Regions from separate parts of the Homo sapiens genome. Here region 2 is linked to region 1. The links are contacts of gene promoters, found by promoter capture Hi-C in blood cells and fetal thymus (Javierre and others, 2016). All regions are on one chromosome and are shown on one strand. Each heading gives the region's core, a stretch centred on a gene start or on the middle of the fragment in contact. The rest is flanking DNA. Distances are from core to core; before and after follow the strand shown.

Evidence for each region. The method cuts DNA at HindIII sites, captures the fragments that hold promoters and counts their contacts. A CHiCAGO score of 5 or more calls a contact.
Region 2: a fragment that was not itself captured here is called in contact with the fragment with the promoter of CTU1 in region 1 in 1 of 17 cell types (naive CD4 T cells); the score reaches 5.2 in naive CD4 T cells.

Annotation. Positions count from the first base shown.
Region 1 is chr19:51,104,469-51,111,501 of GRCh38, forward strand. It overlaps CTU1 (cytosolic thiouridylase subunit 1), which reads right to left and starts at 3,941. Exons shown (of 3, transcript NM_145232.4): 1 at 3,879-3,941; 2 at 1-122. The coding sequence starts at 101. RefSeq lists an enhancer at 3,907-4,236. The HindIII fragment of the contact is 4,633 bases long and covers 871-5,503 here.
Region 2 is chr19:50,027,909-50,034,941 of GRCh38, forward strand. ZNF473 (zinc finger protein 473) reads left to right here. Exons shown (of 5, transcript NM_015428.4): 2 at 2,984-3,183. The coding sequence starts at 3,175. Among named protein-coding and RNA genes, the nearest start is that of ZNF473, 5.4 kb to the left of the region's middle. The HindIII fragment of the contact is 2,086 bases long and covers 1,901-3,986 here.

The DNA of each region.
Region 1 (7,033 bases), core at 2,691-5,190:
AAGGCGGCGCAGAAGCAGGCACCGCACAGCGCTTGGCCCGAGAGCGGACGGCGGAGGGCGGCGCGTGCAGCATGGCAGGAGGCGCACGGCGGGGCGGGCATTGCGGGAGGGGTCGGCTTCTCCTAGACAGGGAGAGAGAGGAGGTGGGTTACATATGGATTCCGGATTGCAGGGTCCCTGCCATCGGGGAGATTGTCTGGATTGCACCTCTGCCCGGAATAGACCAGGGAGACGTGTGCGCGAGTGGAGTAGCTTCTTCTAGCGCTGGGGATAGGATGGTTATAAATAGGTCCGGTGTAAGGAAGCCACTGCCTTAGGGAAGGCTTCTTGGATTGCACCCATTATGCAAGAAGAAGAGAAGTAGCTTAAGAAGCTGGCTTCATGGGTAAAGAGAGGGAGCGACAAGCAGGTTATACCCAGGATTAGGTTGTGTCCTCTCCAGAGGGATGGGGGTGTATATTAAGGCCCATTTGTCACAACCTCCAGGGAGGCCACCCTTGTTACAGTCCTGATCAGGACAAGGTAGGTATCATTGGCCTGGGCCACCAGGGCTGTTAAAAGCCCTTGGGAGGTGAGGGGTTTTTGACTCTAAGGGCAGAGGGAGGCCAGGGGACTGAAGCTCTGTGCAGCGGGAGGTGGAAAACAGGAAAGGCCAACTGATTGCACTTTGTAGGGTGGGATACGGTCTCCAGGAATGGGTTCTGATTGCATCCTATGAAAGGCAGGGTGATCACCTTCTCCAGGGAACACAGGCAGCCTGGATCACACCTCTCAGGAGACCAGCTGGGGTTGCACACATTTTGAGGGTGAGAAAATGGGTGGGCCTCCAAGATTGAACTCAACCCTGCTCTGGTATCAGAATGCCCCACAAGCTTCTGTGCTCTCACCAAGACATGGATCGGCCCATCTTTGACCTTCATCTGTTATCTTTCCTACTTCATTCTTCCCCACCCAGCCTAGACTCCAACCCTCCAGTCAAATCCTGGTCCTGCCTGCCTGGTGAACCCATAAAAACTCCCCAGGCTCAGTTCTCCTCCCCAAGCCACCATCACCTCCAGCCTGGACTACTGTAGTCACCTCCTTGCCATTCAGAGCAGGTCACGCTGCTTCTAGGATTTACCACAATGTGTGGAATTATTTTATGTGACTATATATTTACCATCTCTAACTTCTATGAGGGCAGAGACCAGTACCACTCAGATGTCTAATAGGCATCTCAAAACCCAAATTCCTGATTCTTCTAACCCAGCGTGCTTCTCCTGGAGTACAGGGCAGCTCCATCCTTCTAGCTGCTCAGGCCAGGAGCTTTGGGGTCCAGGACCCTGGACTGCTCTTTCTCTCACTGCACTTGTCATGCTCCCAGTGGGTGGCACCAAACTGCAATGCCAAGTCCGGACCTTTTCAAACTCCAGGTACCTAAATGAAATTTAGCAAATCCTGTTTGAATGTAGTTTCAAAACAGCCAAACACTTAGGACCGTCTCCACGGCAGCACCCTAGTCTGGTCTGTCTCTCTCCTGGACGGCTGCATGGGGCTCCCCACAGGTCTCCTGCTCCCGCCTTGCCTCCTCTACAAACACTCCTTCACATAACAGCCAGTGGGATCATGCCCTGAATCTTCTCAGCATCCTCCCCTGGATCCCATCTCACTTTAGTATAATAACTGCTAATGGCCGATGAGGCCCTACATGTGTGGCTCCTTGTTTCTCCAACCTCCTCTCCTTCAGCCTTGATGTCGTTTACTCTGACACCTGAGGAATACTCCTGCTCCAGATGTTTGCACTGGCTCTCCCCTCTGCCCTGAGTACTCTTCCTGCCACTGAGCCCAAGAAGCAGCCCTTAGGACTCATCTGCAGTGACCGTCGGGAACATCTGTCACAGGTGAGCAGCAACTCTTGGAATCTTTCTTCCCCCGACTTTTGACTCACTCCTTCTGTGCTCCTGGATTTCCTGCTCAATTCTCTTTTGGGGACGCCTCTTCATGTCCTCAGGTCCTGCCTAGCACCCATCTCTTTCCATTTTTTAAAGATTTTTAATTTAATTTAATTTAATTTTTTGAGATGGAGTCTGGCTCTGTTACCCAGGTGGAATGCAGTGGCACAATCTCGGCTCACTGTAACCTCTGCCTCCCAGGGTCAAGCGTTTCTCCTGCCTTAGCCACCCGAGTAACTGGGACTACAGGCGTGTACCACCATGCCTGGCTAATTTTTTTTTTTTTTTTTGTATTTTTAGTAGAGATGCGGTTTCACCATGTTGGCCAGGCTGGTCTTGAACTCCTGACCTCAAGTGATCCGCCCGCCTCGGCCTCCCAAAGTGCTGGGATTACAGGCGTAAGCCACTGTGCCCAGCTTCTTTCCATTCTTATGAGCGCCTCTGAATCATGATATTCAGATGTCCCTCCTGGCTGGTCCTCCACATGGCTGGGGCACCTTAAAGATGTTCAGACCCTAAGCGCCCAGACAACCTATTTCTTCCTCGAAAGGCAGAAACCTGTTCTTGCCCATCTGTTCCCTCTCTTCTGAGAGCAGCCACCACCTTTCATCCAGCCCATCTGCAGGACAGGACGTAACGTCACCCTGGACTCATCTCTCCTCACCCCCTAAATCTACAGTCACCCAGTCCTGGGGGGTCCACGTCCTGAGGAAGGGAGACGCTCGCAGGGGACAAGGCTGCACAAGTTAGCAGAGCCTCATAGGCCATGATGTGGAATTTTAGGTTTATTCAGGAGGAGATGGGAGCCTTGGGAGGTTTTTGAACAGTAAAGTGGTATGATCTGGCATGTTTTAAAAGGATTCCTAGACTGGTCAACATAGCGAGACCCCATCTCTAAAAAAATAAATAAATAAATTAGCTGCACCTGGTGGCACAGGCCTGTAGTACCAGCTACTCAGGAAGCCAAGGCAGGAGGATCACTTGAGCCCAGGAGGTCAAGGCTGCAGTGAGCCATGATCGCACCAGTGCACTCCAGCGTGGGTGATAGAGTGAGACCTTGTCTCAAATAAAAAAAGTGGGATTCGTTTGGCTGCTGTGTGGGGAGGACTGTTGGTTGTCAGGGACAAGGACAGAAGGCTGGAGGTCAGCACACTAGACAGGAGTGCTGGCAGTAGAGGTGGGAAGAAGTGAAATTTTGGATCTATTTTGAAGGTGGAGCCCACAGGACTTGTATAAGACTGATTGGAGTGGGGACTGGGGCAACGACGAGAGAAAGTGATGAAGGGTAACTTTGAGGTTCTGGCCTGAGCATTGGAGGGACGGTGGGGCCATTTTGTGAGGTGAGAAGACCAGGAATTCCATTTGGCCACGTCAGGTTTGACATGCATGTTAAGCGTCTTCCCTCAAAGACTTTATGGACCCTCGTCACTGAGTCGAGCGCCTCCACCAGGGCCCTCAGAGCTGCCCTGATCCTGACTAGCTGTCACTGGTGACAGGTCTGTCTCTCTGCTTCAAGGCAGGGACAGGGTTGGTCTGGTGCCCTCGCTCCCGCCGCCCTGCGCAGAGTCGGTGCTCAGTAAGTATCTGTAGGATGAGGGAATAATAAGTGCTCCCAGAAGAGAGGCCGCGGACCCCAGGGATGCCTCTGGATTGCAGCCTTGTCAAAAGGACAGATAATGTGTGGCATGGGGGCGGGGACAGGCAGATAGTAACATAGGGGCGGGGGCAAGCAGATGGTCTTATCCTGTCTTGGGGAAGGGAGTGGCCCGGTAAGAGACAGGCCGGACCGCAGCGTTCAAAGTGGGAATCCTGGCTACAAGGCCTCAGGGACACGGGCGCTGGGAAATCACAGAGGCCTTACGCTCGAAGAGACCCTCAACCCTCCCACGGCACCGCAACAAAGAGCCGGAGTCCACATGCCGACCCACCGCAGGAGGAAATACTCACCCGGGCAGAACTCAGTGCTGGGATGCCCACACTGCCCACCACGCGGAAGCCTGGCCCGGAAGTGACTCCGAGACTACCACTCCCATAAGGTCTTGGGGCTTTCTTGCCTAGAACTCCCAGAAGCCCATGCGACACTTCCGCTGGATGCGCCTACGGCTCCGGGGTCCCGCTTGGCCTACAACTCCCAGAAACACTTGCATTGCTCTTTCTGCCGCTCCCAAAATACACTGCTCCCCCTCCCCCCGCGTTTACTTTCTGCGCCTGCGCGCGGCCGCAGGGAGCGGCGGAGCTGCGTGTACTGTTGTCATGGCAGCGCGCTGTCACCCGGCAGGTTGCTGGATGGGCGAAGTAGTTGTATTCTGATTAACTGATTTTGTGGGATTATTATAGGATTTTAAGGGGATTACAGGGCCTATGATTTCTGCCCTTTGAGGCGGGGTTGCGGGTGGGAATTGAAGGTGGAACTGCAGGGGTTGGTCGCTAGTGTAAAAGGCGCAGATAGCGCATGCGTAGAGCAGACTTCGAGGATTGGAGTGGAACTCCGCGCGCACGCGGGGGCTGTCGTGATGCGCGTGCTGGAGACCCAGACTCTAAACAGAAGGATCCAAAGACCCTTCTCACCTAACCCAGGAGCCCAGAGGCTCAGAGACTCAGACCCTTGAGACTAAGGGGGTTAAAAACGCAGACCCCTGGCACCAAAGCACCTGAGAGAACCAGTAGACCTGGAGACAACCGTCTGCACCCTAGACACAGGGATCTGGAGGCCTCCACCCTCCCCACAAGGCCCAAGGGTCTTGAAGACCCCGGTGACTCAAATACCGGGGCACAAGGAGTTTAAGGACTCAGATATCTGAGACCCTTGAGATCCAGGTCCCCAAACCTAGGTCCTCGAAAAAACTGAGGCTCAAAATTCCTCTAGACGGCGCGGTGGCTTACACCTGTAATCCCAGCACTTTGGGAGGCCGAGGCGGGTGGATCACGAGGTCAAAAGATGGAGACCATCCTGGCCAACATGGTGAAACCTCATCTCTACTAAAAATACAAAAATTAGCTGGGCGTAGTGGTGCGCGCCTGTAGTCCCAGCTACTCGGGAGGCTGAGGCAGGAGAATGGCTTGAACCCAGAAGGCAGAGGTTGCAGTGAGCCGAGATCGCGCCACTGCACTCCAGCCTGGCCACAGAGTGAGACTCTGTCTCAAAAAAAAAAAAAAAATCCTCTAGATTAAGGGACCACCAGAGCCTTAGACTGAGATGTGGAGATGTGCAGAGAGCCCCAGGATGTGTAGGTCTACGGCCGGTGATGACGTGAGAAGGAACCCCATGCACCCTGTAGCCCATTTTTTTCCCCCATAACAGGAAACCATGATGCCTTCCTTTCATATTAAATGAGCTCCGTGAGGTCACTCTTAAGCCTTATCATGGGCCAGTTCTGTTCATCTGTGTGCGTTGGTTCATTTGTTGAATTTATTTCCTGAGGTCTCCTTGTGCCAGGCTGCCCCTGGGCTAGGTTTAGGTGACACAAATGAATCAGACTTGGTTACTGTCCTCTGAGCATCCCCCACCCCTTACACCACCACCCTGTCCTCCTGGTGGGGGAGACAGGGACTTAGTCAATATGGAGTGATAAAGCTTGACATGGAAGTGTTAAGAGCCTTGAAAGCTCAATTTCAATCACTGCCAGCCAGGGTGTCAGAAAAAAAAAAAATTCAACAAAGGCTGCTATGTGCCATGCATCATCTCAGTTTGTTCATCTGTGAAAGGGGGGCAATAATAGCCTGCCTCATAGGATTTATGCGAAGTCAAATTGAATTAACAACACCTCTAAAGAATTTAGAACAGCTTCTGGCACATAGTATGTGCTCAACAAGTGGTTATTATTCTCATCTCAATTCTCATAACATTAAGATTATATGTTACATATGAGTTGGGTACAACTGTAATTCTTCTTCTTCTTTTTTTTTTTTTTTTTTTGAGATGGAGTCTCACTATGTCACCCAGGCTGGAGTGCAGTGGCGCGATCTCGGCTCACTGCAACCTCCACCTTCTGGATTCAAGTGATTCTCCTGCTTCAGCCTGCTGGGTAGCTGGAATTACAGGTGCGCTACCACACCTGGCTAATGTTAGTATTTTCAGTAGAGACGGTGTTTCACCATAGTGGCCAGGCTGGTCTCAAACTCCTGACCTCAAGTGATCCCAAAGTGCTGGGATTACAGGTGTGAGTCAGCATGCCCAGCCTTGTAATTCTACTTAGGTGAGGATCTTGAAGCTCAGTGATGTCACTTCCCTGGACTGCCTGACTCTACAGCAGGGGTTGCAAACCTTTCCTGTAAAGGGCCAGGTAGCCAATATTTTAGGCTTTGTGGGCCACAGGGTCTTTGTGGCAACTCTGCTGTTGTATGTTGAAAGCAGCCATTGATATAAGATAAGCAAGTGAGGGTGGCTGTATACCAATAAAACTTTATTGATGGACACTGACATTTGAATTTCATGTAATTTGCATGTGTCAGGAAATATTCTTCTTTTGAAGAATTTTGAAGATTTTACACCATTTAAAGATGTAAAATCATTTGTAGCTTGTGGGCCATGTAAAAACAGGCAGCAGGCCCGATTTGGCTGGTGGTCTCTGGTTTGTAGCTCCTTGCTCAAAGCCTGTCTCCTTAGTCTCCAAGCTGTGCTTGCTCCTGGAAGAGGTGTGAAGTGTGGCAAAGGAGGTTGAGAATTTGAGGGTCGAAATGGCCTTTTAATACAGAAGAAATCGCCTGAGCAAAGAAAGATCTTGTGGCAAGAAAGCACAGGGTGCCTTTTGTTTGAATGCAATTTATGTTATCTAATCAGGTTATGCACTTAAATGCTATAAAATGGAAACAGTGCATAGACTCTACAGTGAAGTCTCCCTGTCGTCTCCCCCCACCCACCCACTGTCTAGTTCTCCTCCTCAGAGGCAGCCTCTGTCCTGCAACAATGTGGGAGTGCATGCTGAATCGGGGTGTATAGAGTTTCCCCATTCTCCTCTGTGGGACCAGGATAAGAGTGGGATATTTGGGGCTCCAGAGATAGATGGGAAAAGAGGTGAGGTCAGCCATGAGAAGCCCTCTCACTCCCAGCCCTCTGCTGTCTGGTTTCTTTCCTGTCTCCCCTAACACAGTCTCCCGATCAA
Region 2 (7,033 bases), core at 1,694-4,193, 1.1 Mb before region 1:
GGACTCCAAACTTCAGGTGATCCGCCTGCCTTGGCCTCCCAAAGTGCTGGGATGGCAGGCATGAGCCACTGCACCCAGCCGCTTTTTAAACTTAAATTTAATTTTTTTGGCCGGGTGTGGTGGCTCATGCCTGTAATCCCAGCACTTTGGAAGGCCGAGGTGGGTGGATCACGAGGTCAGGAGATCGAGACCATCCTGGCTAACACGGTGAAACTCCGTCTCTACTAAAAATACAAAAAATTCTCCGGGCGTGGTGGCAGGCGCTTGTAGTCCCAGCTACTCAGGAGGCTGAGGCAGGAGAATGGCATGAGCCCGGGAGGCAGAGCTTGCAGCGAGCTGAGATCGCGCCACTGCACTCCAGCCTGGGCGACAGAACGAGACTCCGTCTCAAAAAAAAAAAAAAAAACAAATTTAATTTTTTTTTGGAGGCAGGATCTTTCTCTGTCATTCAGGCTGGAGTACAGTGACACAATCATAGCTCACTGCAGCCTTGAACTCCTGGGCTCAAGTGATCCTCCTACCTCAGCCTCCCAAGCGATCCTCCTACCTCAGTCTCCCAAGTAGTTGGGACTACAGGCACGTGCCACCACAACTTGCTCATTTTTAATTTTTTTTTTTTAGAAACAAGGTCTTGTTACGTTGCCCAGGCTGGTCTCGAACACCTTTCAGCCTCCCAAAGTGCTGGGATTATAAGCATCCCCCACTTGCCTAGCACTGGTGGGGGAGCTTTAAATGGGCACCAGTGAACTAACTTCGTGGGATGTAGACCCAATGTTGCCAAATCCTAGGATGTTTCAGAAGTTGGAAACATAATTTTTAGGTGAAATTTCCCAATTTTCAAGTTTGAGACTAGTGAGCCATGCTTGAATTTTCTTTCAAAACATTCTGTCTGCCAACAAACATTATGGGCCAAATATCTGTCAACTGAGTTATACTCGTAGGTTGAGGCTTAACCTCTGACATGTAGAAAAACTCATTGTTCAGTAGAATTAGCATTTATTGTAGGTCTACCATATTCCCATATTTGTAGTCTCAAAAATCTGGACAACTCAGAACAACAAATTTTTTTTCATAAATTTAGTGTCCGTGCCTTACCTGAACTACTACAGGGTATTTTTTAAATATAACTTTAAATTATTCTACCTAGAATGAACGATGATACTTTTCTCTAGGGTAAAGTGTTCAATTATGAAATGCAGCCTGATCCACACTGCGCTGGGACTTTGTTTTGTTTTGTTTTTGTTTTTGTTTTTGAGACGGAGTCTCGCTCTGTCGCCCAGGCTGGAGTGCATGGCGCCATCTCGGCTCACTGCAAGCTCCACCTCCCGGGTTCACACCATTCTCTCGCCTCAGCCTCCTGAGTAACTGGGACTACAGGCGCCCACCACCATGCCTGGCTAATTTTGTTATTGTATTTTTAGTAGAGACGGGGTTTCACCGCGTTAGCCAGGATGGTCTGGATCTCCTGACCTCGTGATCCGCCTGCCTTGGCCTCCCAAAGTGCTGGGATTACAGGCATGAGCCACTGCGGCCAGCCCTGCACTGGGATTTTAATGAAATATGCCATGTATATGCCATATCACCTTTTGAAAATAAAAGTTGAATTTCAAAGCACATCTGGCCTTGGAGTTTGAAGAATTTGTGGACCTGTGTCATTGTTAAGTGATCCGTGCTGCTTTGTGATATGAAATGCTTTCAGCACTCCGCAGATATGTGCTACTTGGTCCACGCAGTGGATACAAATGGGTAAAAATGTCTGTGGTACAGTTTTGCGTATTATGGGTCATGAAAATAACTAGGTGGGCAGTGACTATGATTTTTTAATGAAGTAGAATAAAAGAGACTAGAATAGAAAACATCCCAGTGCATCTTACATTGCAGGGTAAGTATTGCTTCATGAAGCTTTTGTTTAGTTACACTGTGTGTTTGAGTAGTCATGATACTTTTTTTTTTTCTTTTTTGAGATGGAGTCTCACTGTGTTGCCCAGGCTGGAGTGCGGTGGCACCATCTCGGTTCACTGCAGCCTCTGCCTCCCGGGTTCAAGTGATTCTTTGCCTCAGCCTTCCGAGTAGCTGGGATCACAGGCACGTCCCACCAAGCCCAGCTAATTTTTGTATTCTTAGTACAGACGGGGTTTCAGCATATTGGCCAGGCTGGTCTTGAACTCCTGACCTCAAGTAATCTGCCCACCTCGGCCTCCCAAAGTACTGAGATTACAGGCGTGAGCTACTGTGCCTGGCCTATTCTACATATTGGTGGTGTTACTGTGGGTCACGGTTAAAACAAAAGTTGAAATATTTCTGTTGTAGAGATAGTGGCCAGGTGCGGTGGCTCACAACTGTAATCCCAGCACTTTGGGTGGCCCACGAGGGCGGCTTACTTGAGGTCAGGAGTTTGAGAACAACTTGGGCAACAAGTGAGATCCTGTCCCTACAAAAAGTGAAAAAGATTAGCTGGATGTGGTGGCACATGCTTGTAGTCCCAGCTGCTTGAGAGGCTGAGGTTGGAGGATTGCTTAAGCCCAGGAAATTACAGCTGCAGTGGCCCATGATTGTGCCACTGTAGTACTCCAGCCTGGCAACAGAGCAAGACCGTGTCTCCAAAAAAGAGTAACAGTTTCGGAGGCCAATTTACCTGAACTCAAATTCCAGAGATGATAATCAGAAATCCCAGAAGCATTGTTCCATTGGTTCTTTAGACACCTTCGTTCTGTCAACAACTGTAGGTACTTTTACACCTACTGTTAAAGCACCTACTGCGTACTAGGCACCATGCTGGTGCTAAGACACAGCAGTGAGCAAGACAGAAGCTCCCACTGTGGCCATAGACTTTCATCACCAAATCTCCTAAACATGTGCTGACTGACTGTTAGGTGCTAACCCACCATTGTTGGTGGCGAAGCTGTTCTGTAGGTTCTGAAGCACAGTGCAAATGTGGGGCTGAGGTGGCTTCAGTAAATATAGTTGTTGTTGTCCCCTGCAGGGAGACTCACATTGGGACTTGTCCTCCTCCTCCTGGACATTTTGGGGGCTCGTCAGCATGGACAGCGAGTCAGCCATGGGTGGAAGGGAGGCTTTCTCACAGCTCCCTTGTGCTTCCCACAGCCCTGCCAGCCGGGAACACGGAGGGGAAGGAGGAGGAGCTTAAAAGAGGCTACTGAACCCCAGTTGGCCATGGCTGAGGTGAGTTGAAGGTCGCTCTGTCCTAATCGGTCACACCCAAAGGCAGAAAAATTGGCCTTCCTTTGTGGCCGAGGCGAGTTGAAGGTCGCTCTGTGTTGATTGGTCACCCCCATGGCAGGAAAGCTGGCCTTCCTTTGTTTTGGCCTCCCTGTCCCATGGTGGCTCCCAGGCGATCTTTTTTAAAGGAAAGCTCGCATGCTGTTCTTTCCTGTTTGTACTCTTCTGGGAACCCCTATTGCTTATAGAATAAATTCCAGGTTTTTCAGCCTTCCTGTGTGTTCTGGCTTCTACCCTCTTTGCACCATCTTCTGTCATTTCTCTAGATAACAAATACTCCCTTTGGCCTAGTAGTAAAAGTTGATTCTGTACTTTCCAGCAGCTTCCTTTGCTCAGGTTGGGCCCTCTGCTGGAATTCCCTGCCCCTTTTCCATGTGGTAGTGTCTCACACAGCCTTTAAGACCCGGCTCAGTTCCCCCACCCTTCCCTAGGCAGTCAGCACTTTCCTGCTCTAGCCTTCCATAGTACCCCCTGCTGCCTCCACTGTAGCACAGATCCACCTAGATATGGATGTTCCTGCCCATATCTGTCAGCCCCACCAGACTAGATGCTCCTTGGGGACAGGAACTGATGGGGATTCATCTCTGGGTCCCCAGGGCCCAGCACAGGCCAGGAACACAGGAAGCCTCATGAGGTGTTAGTTGAATGAATGAATGAATCAATGAATGATGCATGAAACCATCTCTCTATCTGGTAAATATCTGTTCATCCTTAGTGATCCAACTTGAATGACCTTCCCTCCAGGAAGCTTTCCCTGACCTCAAGGCAATGGCCTCCCTCTCCCCCTTGGCCCACACAGTCCCCGATACCTCCCTTTGCCACAGTCCTACCTCCCTCGTGTCTCTCCGTCAGACCATGAGCTCCATGAGGCCAGGAAACAGGTCTGACACACGTCCATGTCCCCAGTGCCCACAATGTGGTCTAGCACACAGGGTAAATGATTGCCAAATATGTGCTCTGACCTTGTCACTTTCCTGTGGCTCCCCAGTGCCTCAAGGATCTAGTCTGCCCCGTCTTCCCACCTCCTTCATCACTGTGACAGGGGCCTTGTCCAGCGCAGTCTGGGAGTGTGAGGAAAGGAAGCCCCTCAAAGGTCCTCTTTGATCTGGCTCCTGCTTGGCTGCTACTCTTGACAGGATATAGACAGCAACAGTTTCTGTTATAAGTACCAGAAATTGACTTACGCAGTCAGGAGACTATTAATTATATAACCAAAAGTCCAGAGGTAGGGCTGTCATGATCTGCAGGTGTGACTGGGACTCAGTTTATTGTCCCCATCTTGAACCTCACTTAGTATGGGTTCCATCCTTCATGAGCTCCTTCCCTTGTCCCAAAACAGCTATCAGGACCATGTGCTGCTTTGCCTCATTCAACAAGTATTTACTCTGTGCCTGTCATGAGTGGGCTTTGTTGTAAGTCTGGACTAGGGAAACGGTTTAGGTGGTTCCTGCCCTCATGAAGCTTACTTTATTGCGGGTGACAGTGTATGAGCTTGCTAGGGCTGCTGTAACAAAGTACCACACACTGGGTGGCTGAAAACAACAGAAATTGGTGGTCTCCCAGTCTTGGAGGCCAGAAGTCTAAGATCAGGGTGTTGGCAGGGCTGGATCCTTCTGAGGCTGTGAGCCAGGCCTCTCCCCTGTGTTCTGGCAGATGGTGGCCAGCTTTGGTGTTCCTCGGCCTGGAGAGGCATCACCTCAATCTCTGCCTTCATCTTCACAGGATGTCCTCCCTGTATCTTCACATTGTCTTCCCTCAGCCTGTGTTTGTCTTTGTGTCCCCATTTCTCCTTTTTATAACAACTTCAGTCGTTTTGGATTAGGACCCACCCTGATGACCTCATCTCAGCTTGATCACCTCTGTAAAGACCCCATTTCCAAATAAGGGCAAATTCTGAGGTACTGGGGGTTAGAACTTCATTGTATCTTTTTAGAGGGTTACAGTTCAACCCATACCACACAGTAAAATGCATTAAGTAAATCCCATAGAATGCAGGCAGTATTAAGGATTATGGAGGAAAGGGATAGGGAGGCCCAGGGTAGATTTGCTGTTTTATACAGAGGGGTGGGAGAAGGCTTCATGGAGAAGAGGCATTTCAGCAGAGAACTGAGGGACACAATCTTGGCTCTAAGATGGGGTCTGGCAGGTGTGTTCAGGGAGCTGCAAGGAAGCTGGTGTGGCTGGAGCAGAGTGGATGAGCAGGAAAGGGGGAGAAGGTGAGCCCTGAGTGGCAGCTGGGGCCAGATCTTTAGGGCCCTGGAGATCATTGTATGGTCTCTGTCTTTAAATATGGTGAATCCGGAGGCCGTTGGAGGGTTTGGAGCAGAGGAGGGACAGGATTTGTTGTAAGCGGAAACAGGATCCCCCTTGCTCGTCCACCCAATTCCTGCTTAGCATCACCACTGGGACGACTGTTTCAGGGTCTTACTGCTGCTGTAACAAATAATACAAACTTGTGGGCTTAAAAACAACACAAATTTATTCTTTTACAGTTCTTCAGGTCTGAATCCCAAAATGATCTCACGGGGCTCAAACCAAGGTGTCAGCAGGGTGCGTTCCTTCTGGAGGCCCTAGGGAAGAATTCAGTCCTTGCCTCTCCCAGCTTCTGGAGGCTGCCTATATTCATTGGCTCCTGGCCGCATCACTCTAATCTCTGCTTCTGTCATGGCATCACCTCTTTTCTCCTGTGATTCCTTGTCTCCCTCTTATTAGGATCCTTGTGATGACATTTAGGACCAACCCAGATAATCTAGGATAATCTCCCCATTTCCAGATTCTTAATCACAGCTGCAAAGTCCCTTTCGCCATGTAAGATAATATTCATGGGTTCTGGGAATTAAGACAGGGACATCTTTGTGTGGGGTGGCGGCATTATTCGGCCATGACAATCTACAGGATATCTCAAACTTTACATGTCCCAAACCAAACTCAGACTCTGTCCTGAAAGCTGCTTCTCCTATGTCTCAGTAAGTGGCAACTTTGTCCTTCCAGCTGTTCAGGCTAAAAACGTAGAGCCATCCCAGGGTCTTCTGTCTTTCACACCCTCCATGTTATTCGTCAGGAAACCTTGTCAGCACCGTTATCTGAATATCTGGAATCTCACCACTTCTCACCCCCTCCATTGCTGCCACCATTTCTCACCTGGATTATCAAACTGGCCTTTTTCCTTTGACTCCCTGCTTCTGCCCTTCTCACCTTCTGTCTTTTCCCACGAAGCAGCAAGAGGAGGATGCTGTTTAGTATATGCCTAATTTAAAAAAGTTTTTTTATTGTAAAATCACAGGTGCAGAAATGCACACACATCAAATGCATGACCTAATGAAGGCGAACGCCACCTAGATCAAGAGTGAGAATTTTTTTTGCCATCCACCCCAGAAGTCCTTCGTGGGCTCTGTCATAGCCCTCTCGCATCCCCAATAAGTAACCTGATTTTTATGATTACCACTTGCTTTATTACTCAAATGCACAATCCCTTGCCCCTTCTTGTTTTTTAATGTCTTCTGTGTCTCTTAATCTTTGGGTTCCTCCTCCATCCCCTTCTGTTCTCAGCTGTTAGTTAGAGAACAGTTATTCGGTCCTTTGAGGAACTGGCATGGTTCGACCTGTAGAATTCCTCAGTCTGTTTTCTCTGGTTCCATCCTTGTGGTGCAGTTGAGTTTATTCCCAGTTGGCAGCTAGGTCCAGAGGCTTGATTAGACTCATGGTCAATCCTTTTACCAAGAATCTCTTGTGCCCCCTGTTTGTGGTCCTGGCAGATAGTGATGCTTTCTGCCTTATCACCTGTTCATTCATC